3 separate regions of the Homo sapiens genome follow, and regions 1 and 2 are each linked to region 3. Evidence: promoter capture Hi-C in 16 types of primary human blood cells and fetal thymus (Javierre and others, 2016). All regions are on one chromosome and are shown on one strand. Each heading gives the region's core, a stretch centred on a gene start or on the middle of the fragment in contact. The rest is flanking DNA. Distances are from core to core; before and after follow the strand shown. Region 1 holds the start of CAPZB (capping actin protein of muscle Z-line subunit beta). Region 2 overlaps CAPZB (capping actin protein of muscle Z-line subunit beta). Region 3 holds the start of HTR6 (5-hydroxytryptamine receptor 6).

Region 1 (2,842 bases), core at 53-2,552, 180 kb after region 3:
TGGTCTAAGCCAGCTTCATCTCTCTGCTGTGTGACCTTGGGCAAGCTCCTTACCTTTTCAGGCTTCTGTCATGAGGATTAAATGGCTTATTATCTGTAAGGTGCTTAACAGTGTTCATCACATAGGATGTGCCATATCAGTGCTTTTTAAATAAATAAATGTCCTCAATATAGAAATGGCTTTCTAAGGCCCTAGTCCCCCTACAGTCCATTCAGAACACAGCAGCCTCATGATCCTTTTAAAGCCTAGGTCAAATCTTGTCATTGCCCTGTCCTTCAGCTCCTGCTCGACCTAGGCTAGCCACACTGGCCTCCTGTCTGGCCCTTGAAAACACACCAGTGCTGATGCAGCACTGTCACCTTCAGGGTTTTTACCCTTGCTGCTCCTTGTGCCTCTGCTATCCACACGGCTTGCTCCCTCCTTCCCTTCAGCTATATGATCAAATATTGCTAAGTTAGGCCTTGCCTGCCTACCTGTTTGCTTGAATTTTTCTCATTATCTCTAATCACTACCCGACACTGTATTATTATTATTACTATTTTATTTTTGAGACGAAGTCTCTCTCTGTCGCCCAGGCTGGAGTGCAGTGGCGCGATCTCGGCTCACTGCAAGCTCCGCCTCCCGGGTTCACGCCATTCTCCTGCCTCAGCCTCCCGAGTAGCTGGGACTACAGGCGCCCGTCATCCCGCCCAGCTAATTTTTTTATTTTTAGTAGAGACGGAGTTTCACCGTGTTAGCCAAGATGGTCTCGATCTCCTGACCCCGTGATCCGCCCACCTCGGCCTCCCAAAGTGCTAGGATTACAGGCGTGAGCCACTGCGCCCGGCCTCGGCTAACTTTGTGTATTTTTAGTAGACGGGGTTTCGCCATGTTAGCCAGGCTGATCTGGAACTCCTGACTTCAAGCGATTGCCCACCTCGGCCTCCCAAAGTGCTGAGATTACAGGCGTGAGCCACTGTGCCTGGCCTTGGACACTGTATTTGCCTGGTGGCCGACTGTCTCCCTGACAACACTCAAGCTCCACAACCATGTGGGTTATTTTGCTCATTGCTCTATTTCCAGAGCCTAGCACAGTGCTTGGCACATAGCAGATGCTCAATAAGTATCTACTGCGTGTGCCATTCTCTTCCTTGAATTTCTGTAATACTCATCCAATACCATTCTTGCGAGACTTACCCGTATGCTTTTTCTGCCAGTGGCTACCTGTGAAAGCTTCGACTTGTCTATGAGCTCCCTGAGGACAGGGCCTGGCTCAGGGAAACAATTCCTGTCATCTGTGCAGTTTACCATCCCCTCACAGATCGCCTAATTTGATTTAACCAAAGCAAACAGGCCACGGAGGCAGATATTGTTAGCAATCCAGATCTCTCCTGCTACCTAGACTAAGCTTAACAAATATTTGATTGAGAGAGAGAGAGAGAGATTGGGAGAGAGAAACTTGAGTCACTTTGTGGAGCGAGGAAGCCCTTCTGGGCTAATGGAATGGTTCTCTGTAGCACATTCAACAGTACTCATAACAGCTAGCATTTGTTGAACTTAATTTTTTTTCTTTTGAGACAGAGTCTTGCTCTGTCGCCAGGCTGGGGTGCAGTGGCGCGATCTTGGCTCACTGCAACCTCTGCCCCCGGGTTCAAACGATTCTCCTGCCTCAGCCTCCCGAGTAGCTGGGACTATAGGAGCGAACCACCACGCCCAGCTAATTTTTGTATTTTTAGTAGAAACGGGGTTTCACCATGTTGGCCAGGATGGTCTCGATCTCTTGACCTTGGCCCGCCTCGGCCTTCCAAAGTGCTGGGATTACAGGCGTGAGCCACCGCGGCCGACCTGTTGAACTTAATTTTCTAATCTCTACCTGTGTCATCCTCACAGATATTCTGTCTGCAGCTATACCGGCAGGGATCTTTATGTCTTATCTGTTATCTTCCGGTGCCTAAACAAGGCCTGGCACATAGTAGGTGCTGAATAAATGGCGTCAGCCCGAGGCTCCTCAATTCGTGCCCGGGCTCAGGTGCAGCGCGGCGCTCCAGATCCTGCCGTAGCGAGCGGCAGCGCTGGGCTCCTGCCCCGCTCCCGGCGCGCTCCCCCAGTGCTGGGTTGGGCTGGGTTGGGCTGGGCCGGGCCGGTCCGCGCTCGGCGGCAGTTCCGGGTGCGCCGCAGGAGTGAGCGCGTGCACGGGGTGGGGCGCGGAGGGCCGGTCCCCTCCCAGCCGCGGTGCCTTCCGCATCCCCGCCCGCGGGGACTGTGGGGTGCGGTTCCCTCGCCGCCACTCGCTGCTGCAGGCCCAGAGTCGGGGACTGGACCTCAGACAGCCAGGAGACCTTTCCGCCCCGGCCCGCAACCCGTGCCGGGGACTCCCGGCAGCCGCGCCGCGCAGCGCCGCGCCCCGCCCCGCCTCGCAGGCCCCGCCCCCGCACCCCGTCGGCGCCCGCCTCTCGCGCCGCTCTCCATACTTGGCGATCGCCGCAGCCCCGCGCGCTCATTGGCCGCGAGCTGGCGGCGTGGGGGGCGGGCCCGGGCCGGGCCGGGGCGGGGAAGGAAGGTGGCGGCGGCCCGGCGCGGGGGGAGGGGGGTGCTGACCCGGATGTTCACTCCTGGGCACCCGGGGAAGTGGAAGCGCCGGGCCCTGCTGCGGGGGGGAGAGCCACTGACGCCGGGACCGGGACCGCCGCCGCCGCCGCCACCATGGTAAAGGCCGCACGGCCCCCTCCCCGGCCCGGGGGCCCCTCCGGAGCTCGCGTCCCCCTCCCCCTGCCCATCCCTGGCCTGGGACGGGTGGCTTCCCGGGGTGGGGGAGGGGCGGGGTCCCGGACCCTGGGTGGACCCGGTCCCTCCCCGCCCAGGA
Region 2 (2,775 bases), core at 161-2,660, 240 kb after region 3:
GAGATGGAGTCTCGCTCTGTCGCCCAGGCTGGAGTGATCTGGGCTCACTGCAAGCTCTGCCTCCCGGGTTCATGCCATTCTCCTGCCTCAGCCTCCCGAGTTGCTGGAACTACAGGCGCCCGCCACCACGCCCGGCTAATTTTTTTGTATTTTTAGTAGAGACGGGGATTCACCACGTTAGCCAGGATGGTCTCAATCTCCTGACCTCATGATCCGCCCGCCTTGGCCTCCCAAAGTGTATGTGTGGTCTTTAAATTAGAATTATATATAAAACGTTTGCCTGCATGTGCAGTCTTCCTGAGGGGGACTTTATTGTCAATCAGATTCTGGGAATCTGCAGCCCCCAAACCAATTATTTTTCGCCCAGGGCTTCTCAGCCTTAACTCTATTAACGTTTGGGCCGGGTGATTCTTTGTTGTGGGGAGGCTGTGTATCGCGTTTTGGGATGTTTAGAAGCATCCCTGGCCCCTACCCATTAGATGTCAGTAGTTTCTTCTCTCCCAGTTGTGACAAAAATGTCTCCATACATTGCCAGATGTCTCCTGGCAGGGTTGTTGGAGGTGTGTGTGTATGTGTGTGCACGTGTGCAAAATCATCCCTAGTTGAGAAATACTAGTTTATACCTTTTAACGAGTTTGACTTGAATCATTTAGGGTTTTCTATTCTTGCTTGGCCAAGAGAATACGTAGCTTTGTATTGAGTTTGAACATTAGCTCTAGTTTAAGGGGAGCAAGAGAGAGAGAGAGAGATCCAGGGCTGGGTTGAGGGGCGGGGAGGTTGGGCAGGGGAATCATTTAAAATTTTTAAAAAGATTTAAAAGCTGTATGTTTATTTGTATGCACTCAATATCCCCAATCATTAAACACATACTACTGTGTATTAAATGTTCCACATGCATTACTAAATTATTGTCACTCTCTAAGGAAGATACTGTGTTCCCATTTTATGGATAAATAAATAGAGACTTCTAGAGATTAAGAAACCCACCCAAGGCCATAAGTTAATGAATGGCAGTATTGGGAATTGAATATGTCTCTCTAGAGTCGAATCAGCTTATCTGTGTGTTCTGCCCAAGACGTGGTGTTAAAATTTCCTCTCATGCCAGTGGGCCAAACCCATCACTGTGGCCTTGGCTGACACATGTTGGCATAGAAATGCGTGGCACAAGTAGGGAATTCATGGTTGCTGGCATTCAGCAAAACAAGTGGTAGAATTTCTGGTGTGGTGTTTTTCTTTTCTCTTTGCAGGGGAGCCAGTTCGTTGTGTGTTCCAGGATGAACTGTCACTGATAGCCATCTTGAGCAAGGGACAGGCTTTTTCTTTTCTTTCATTCTTTTTTAAAACAGCTGGCTGTATATGCCATGTCAATATCTTTTTTTAAAAAAATGAAATTGACTCTCCTTAATAATGTGTTATGTCTCTGGTGACTATGAAGTGGGTCCTTGCCCCACGGCCTACTTGTGGTTAACAGACCTGGAGTGTAAACGGTAATATTCAAAAGTTATATTTCGTTAAGGCCAAATGTGGCATTTTGAGGATTACTTTGTGTATTTTATGAGACTGTAGCTTGTTGATTTAGGCCTTCCAAAAATCCTGAAATTGGTCTGAGCAGAGCAGATTCCAGATACAAATCAGATAGTGGCTGCTTGGGTAGTGTTGGGGACTCCATCTGCCTTACTTGGAGTCACCTGTACTTCTAAGAGTTGCATACACAGGTCTTCACCCTTGTACCTGGCCCACCTTTCTCACTTTATTTCTTGTCTCATCTCCTGAGGTCTAGCCTTCTGTGTTAGAACCCACTGTGCATTGAATTTACTTTGCATTTTACCAGCCTTGCCTCCGCTCTGTTCCCTTCCTCTCCCCCTCCCTTTATTTATTTATTTTTTATATGTTTATGGTGACTGGCACATGGTGGCTCTGAGTAAATATTTGCAGCATATGTACTGTGAGGAGAGTATGGTGAAGCACAGGATGCATAGCTTTAAAAAGGTGCTTGGGCTGGGCACGATGGCTCATGCTTGTAATCCCGGCACTTTGGGAGGCCAAGGCAGTTCGACTGCTTGAGCCCAGGAGTTCAAGACCACCCTGGGCAATATGGCAAAACCCCATGTTCCCCCCCTCCCCCCCAAAAAAAACTACAAAATTAGCCAGGTGTGGTGGCATGCACCTGTGGTCCCAGCTACTTTGGAGGCTGAGGTGGGAGGATCACTTGAGCCTGGAAAGTGGGGGTTGTAGGGAGCCAAGATCATGCCACTACACTCCAGCCTGGGTGACACAGCAAGACCCTATCTTTAAAAAATGAAAAACATTTTTTAAAAGAGTGCTTGATAAACAAGAGTAATGGTTGTCTTTCCAGTCCTTGCCTCTGCAGTGACATAGTTTACTGCATTTGCAGTCCAGTTTGCTGGGTGGAGTGAGCTCTTGACTGTAGTGTGGTTCAGGTCTTAGTGTCCTAAGTTTCTATTGAATGAATGAAGCACTTTTAACCCCGTGTGCATCTTGCCACTTGTTCTTTGCCTGGCTTTTCTCCCTCCCTTGGAGCTTCTCAAGGAACCTGGCCTGGGGATGTTACCTGATGTTTACACCCAGGTTACAACAAAGGGCAAAAGTAATCCGCTACTGGAGTGTGTTCACCATGGAACCAACTGGGGGGCACGACATCTGCAGCCACCAGGGCCTGTTGAGCAGGAGCAGGGGAGCCGGTGAGGGAGCTTTCTGACGTCTCCAGCCTGCTTCCACTTCTTTCAGGGTCTTTTGGATGCCCCCACTTGAGAC
Region 3 (2,700 bases), core at 146-2,645:
TGCGTGGCCCAGCTCGTGCCAGCCCAGCAGCAGGGGCAGGAAGGAGGCGAGAGCGGCGAGGCTCCAGGCGCCCAGGACTAGGGCCAGGGCACGCAGGGGCGTCATGCGCAGCTTGTAGCGCAGCGGCGAGAGGATGAGCAGGTAGCGGTCCAGGCTGATGAGGCAGAGGTTGAGGATGGAGGCGCTGCAGCACATCACGTCGAAGGCGGTCCAGAGCAGGCAGAGGCCGCGCGCCAGCACCCAGCGCCCGTACAGCGCGTTCAGCATGGCCGGCGGCATCACCACCAGCCCCACCATCAGGTCAGACGTGAAGAGCGACACCAGGAAGAAGTTGGACGTGTTGCGCAGCGCGGGCTGAGTGCAGATGAGCGCGATCAGCAGCGAGTTGGCCGCCGCCGTCAGCGCGATGACCACGCACAGCGCGGCCGCCACCCAGCCGCTGCCCCCCGGGGCCGACGGCGGCCCTGCCCCCCAGGCCGGGGTGCTATTGGCGGTTGGGCCCGGCTCTGGGACCATGAGGACCGAGGGTGGACGGCAAGGGAGTGATAGGGTGGCGGGAAAGCAGATGAGGGCCCCGGCGAAGCGCAGGCTGGACGGGGACCGTCCGTGAGAACAGACCGCGACTCACCACGCCCCCCGGGGGAGGTGAGTGGGGGGACATGGGCGGGGGCGCTGGGTCGCGCTAGGTCAGGGGGCAGCGACTACAGGAGGACACAGTGTGGCTATTTGGGCGCCCTCGGGGATGGGGCAGGAACTCCTGGAGCAAACGGGTTGGAAGTTTGGGGAGGGGCACCCGATGAGCCGAGGCCCCTGAAGGAAGCGGCGGGAAGTCAAGCAGAGGTCGGATGGGCTCCCTGGGGTGGGAGCAGAGCCCCCTGGAGGGGGCGGGCGGCAAGATAGGGGAGGGGCGTCCGGCCGGGTCAGAGTGCGGGGAAGTGGGAACGCGGGGAGGTGGGTGAGGGGGGTGAATGGGCGCTCTCGGGCCGGAGCAGGCTCCCCGCGGCCGGTGGGCGTGTGGGGTACCAGGGCGGGGGCCTAGGGGCCGGAGCAAAGCCGCCCCTGGGAAAGGCAGGTCTCAGCTGGCGCGGAGGCACCGGGATCCGGCGCACACGGCCTGTGCGGCGCGGGGGTTCGCCGGGGCCGCCAGGCCCCGCGGGAAGAGGAGGGCAGCGGCCGCGCGGCGCCCCCTCCCCACCCGGCAGCAGGGTCGCCTCCGTCTCCCGCCCGCACTGGTACCTGGGGCGCTCTGGCTGCTCCGCCGCCTGCGACTGCGGCAAGCGCCGCGGGGCTGCGAGAGGAAGAGGCGGCCGCGGGCCGGGCGGGCGGCGGGACCGGGTCTCCCGAGCCCGGGAGGCGCCGCGAGGGGCCCGCACGCGCGGAGGAGAGGCCGGGTGCAGCCTGGAGCGCGCGGTCCCCGCGCCGCGGAGCGTGCGCCCCGCCTCGCGGTGGGCGGGGAGAGCCGAGCCCTGGCCCTGCAGGAGGGCGGGGTCCCGGCACCCCGGGCCTGTGGGCCGAAGATCAGAGCGCCCCAGCTGCGAGGGGTCACCTCCCGGGCTGTGGCAGCCCCCACACCCTCAGATGCCCCTCCCAACCCACACGTGGCGGCGGCGCAGGCGGAACTGGGAGCAGGGGGCTGTGACCTGCCCTTATCCAGGGGCTGCTCTCTAATGGGTGCCTGCCCACTCACAACGGGGTCACCGGGCTTTCAGGGGAGCCAGGAGTTGGGAAATATTGGACAAATCGCCTGACACCCCTCTGGGCCTCAGTTGCCATATCTGTAAAATGGGTTAGTAATTCTGGGCATTCTTCACCGTTAGTTTGAGCAAGAAGCTAACCTTCCCCAGGGCCTTTCCCGCAGAAACCATCCCGATCCCCAAAGGGGCCAGGTACTAAGGATGAAGTCCCTGAGCTGTTGGCGCTCCTAGTCTAACAGAGCGTGAACAGATTTGAGAATCCCCAGGCCAGGTGTGTTAAGAGTCGCTGCAGGCAGAGGCGTGGGGTGTGGTTTCCCCTGGGTGTGACCTCCCTCTGTACGTCTCCCCTCTGGCTGAGAAGAGTCTCTGCCTAACACTGCTGTGCAGGTTAATACTGTTATTCATTCATTCATTGAACAGATACTTCAATGCATCTTTTAAGGCGCATCCACTAGATGTCAGGCACTGTTCTGACCCATCAGGACACTACAGTGGCCAAAACAAAGATCCGCACCTCCATGGAGCTTACATTCTAGTGGAAGAAACAGACAATAAACAATAAGCATAATCAACAGAGAAAGTGGGCCCAGCGAGGTGGCTCACGCCTGTAATCCCAGCACTTTGGGAGGCGGAGGTGGGCAGATCACCTGAGGTCAGGAGTTCGAGACCAGCCTGACCAACATGGTAAAACCCCGTCTCTATCAAAAATACAAAAATTAGCTGGGCGTGGTGGCGGGAGCCTGTAATCCCAGCTATTCGGGAGGCTGAGGCAGGAGAATTGCTTGAACCTGGGAGGCAGAGGTTCCAGTGAGCCAAGATTGTGCCACTGCACACTCCAGCCTGGGTGACAGAGCAAGACTCTGTCAAAAAAAAAAAAAAAAAAAAAAAAAAAAAGGAAAGAAAGAAAGAGAGAAAGGAAAGAAAGAGAAAGAAAGAAGAGAAAGAGAAAAAGAAAATGTAGTATAAAGAGAACGGGGTGGGATCATTTTTTCTCCACAGAAACAGA

The links. The method cuts DNA at HindIII sites, captures the fragments that hold promoters and counts their contacts. A CHiCAGO score of 5 or more calls a contact.
Region 1: a fragment that was not itself captured here is called in contact with the fragment with the promoter of HTR6 in region 3 in 7 of 17 cell types (megakaryocytes, naive CD4 T cells, naive CD8 T cells and 4 more); the score reaches 8.4 in megakaryocytes.
Region 2: a contact is called between a fragment that was not itself captured here and the fragment with the promoter of HTR6 in region 3, in 4 of 17 cell types (naive CD4 T cells, non-activated CD4 T cells, total CD8 T cells and 1 more). The highest score is 6.5, in naive CD4 T cells.

The regions. Positions count from the first base shown.
Region 1 is chr1:19,485,279-19,488,120 of GRCh38, reverse strand. CAPZB (capping actin protein of muscle Z-line subunit beta) reads left to right here and starts at 2,582. Exons shown (of 9, transcript NM_004930.5): 1 at 2,582-2,685. The coding sequence starts at 2,683. It also overlaps a transcript of LOC105376819 not described here. RefSeq lists enhancers at 239-746, 2,780-2,842 and silencers at 2,006-2,735, 2,766-2,842. The HindIII fragment of the contact is 175 bases long and covers 1,215-1,389 here.
Region 2 is chr1:19,419,952-19,422,726 of GRCh38, reverse strand. All of the region lies in intron 1 of CAPZB (capping actin protein of muscle Z-line subunit beta), which reads left to right. Among named protein-coding and RNA genes, the nearest start is that of CAPZB, 64 kb to the left of the region's middle. The HindIII fragment of the contact is 3,875 bases long and covers 1-2,775 here.
Region 3 is chr1:19,663,570-19,666,269 of GRCh38, reverse strand. It overlaps HTR6 (5-hydroxytryptamine receptor 6), which reads right to left and starts at 1,395. Exons shown (of 3, transcript NM_000871.3): 1 at 1-1,395. The coding sequence starts at 516. RefSeq lists enhancers at 1-600, 601-1,573 and a silencer at 1,352-1,581. The HindIII fragment of the contact is 8,359 bases long and covers 1-2,700 here.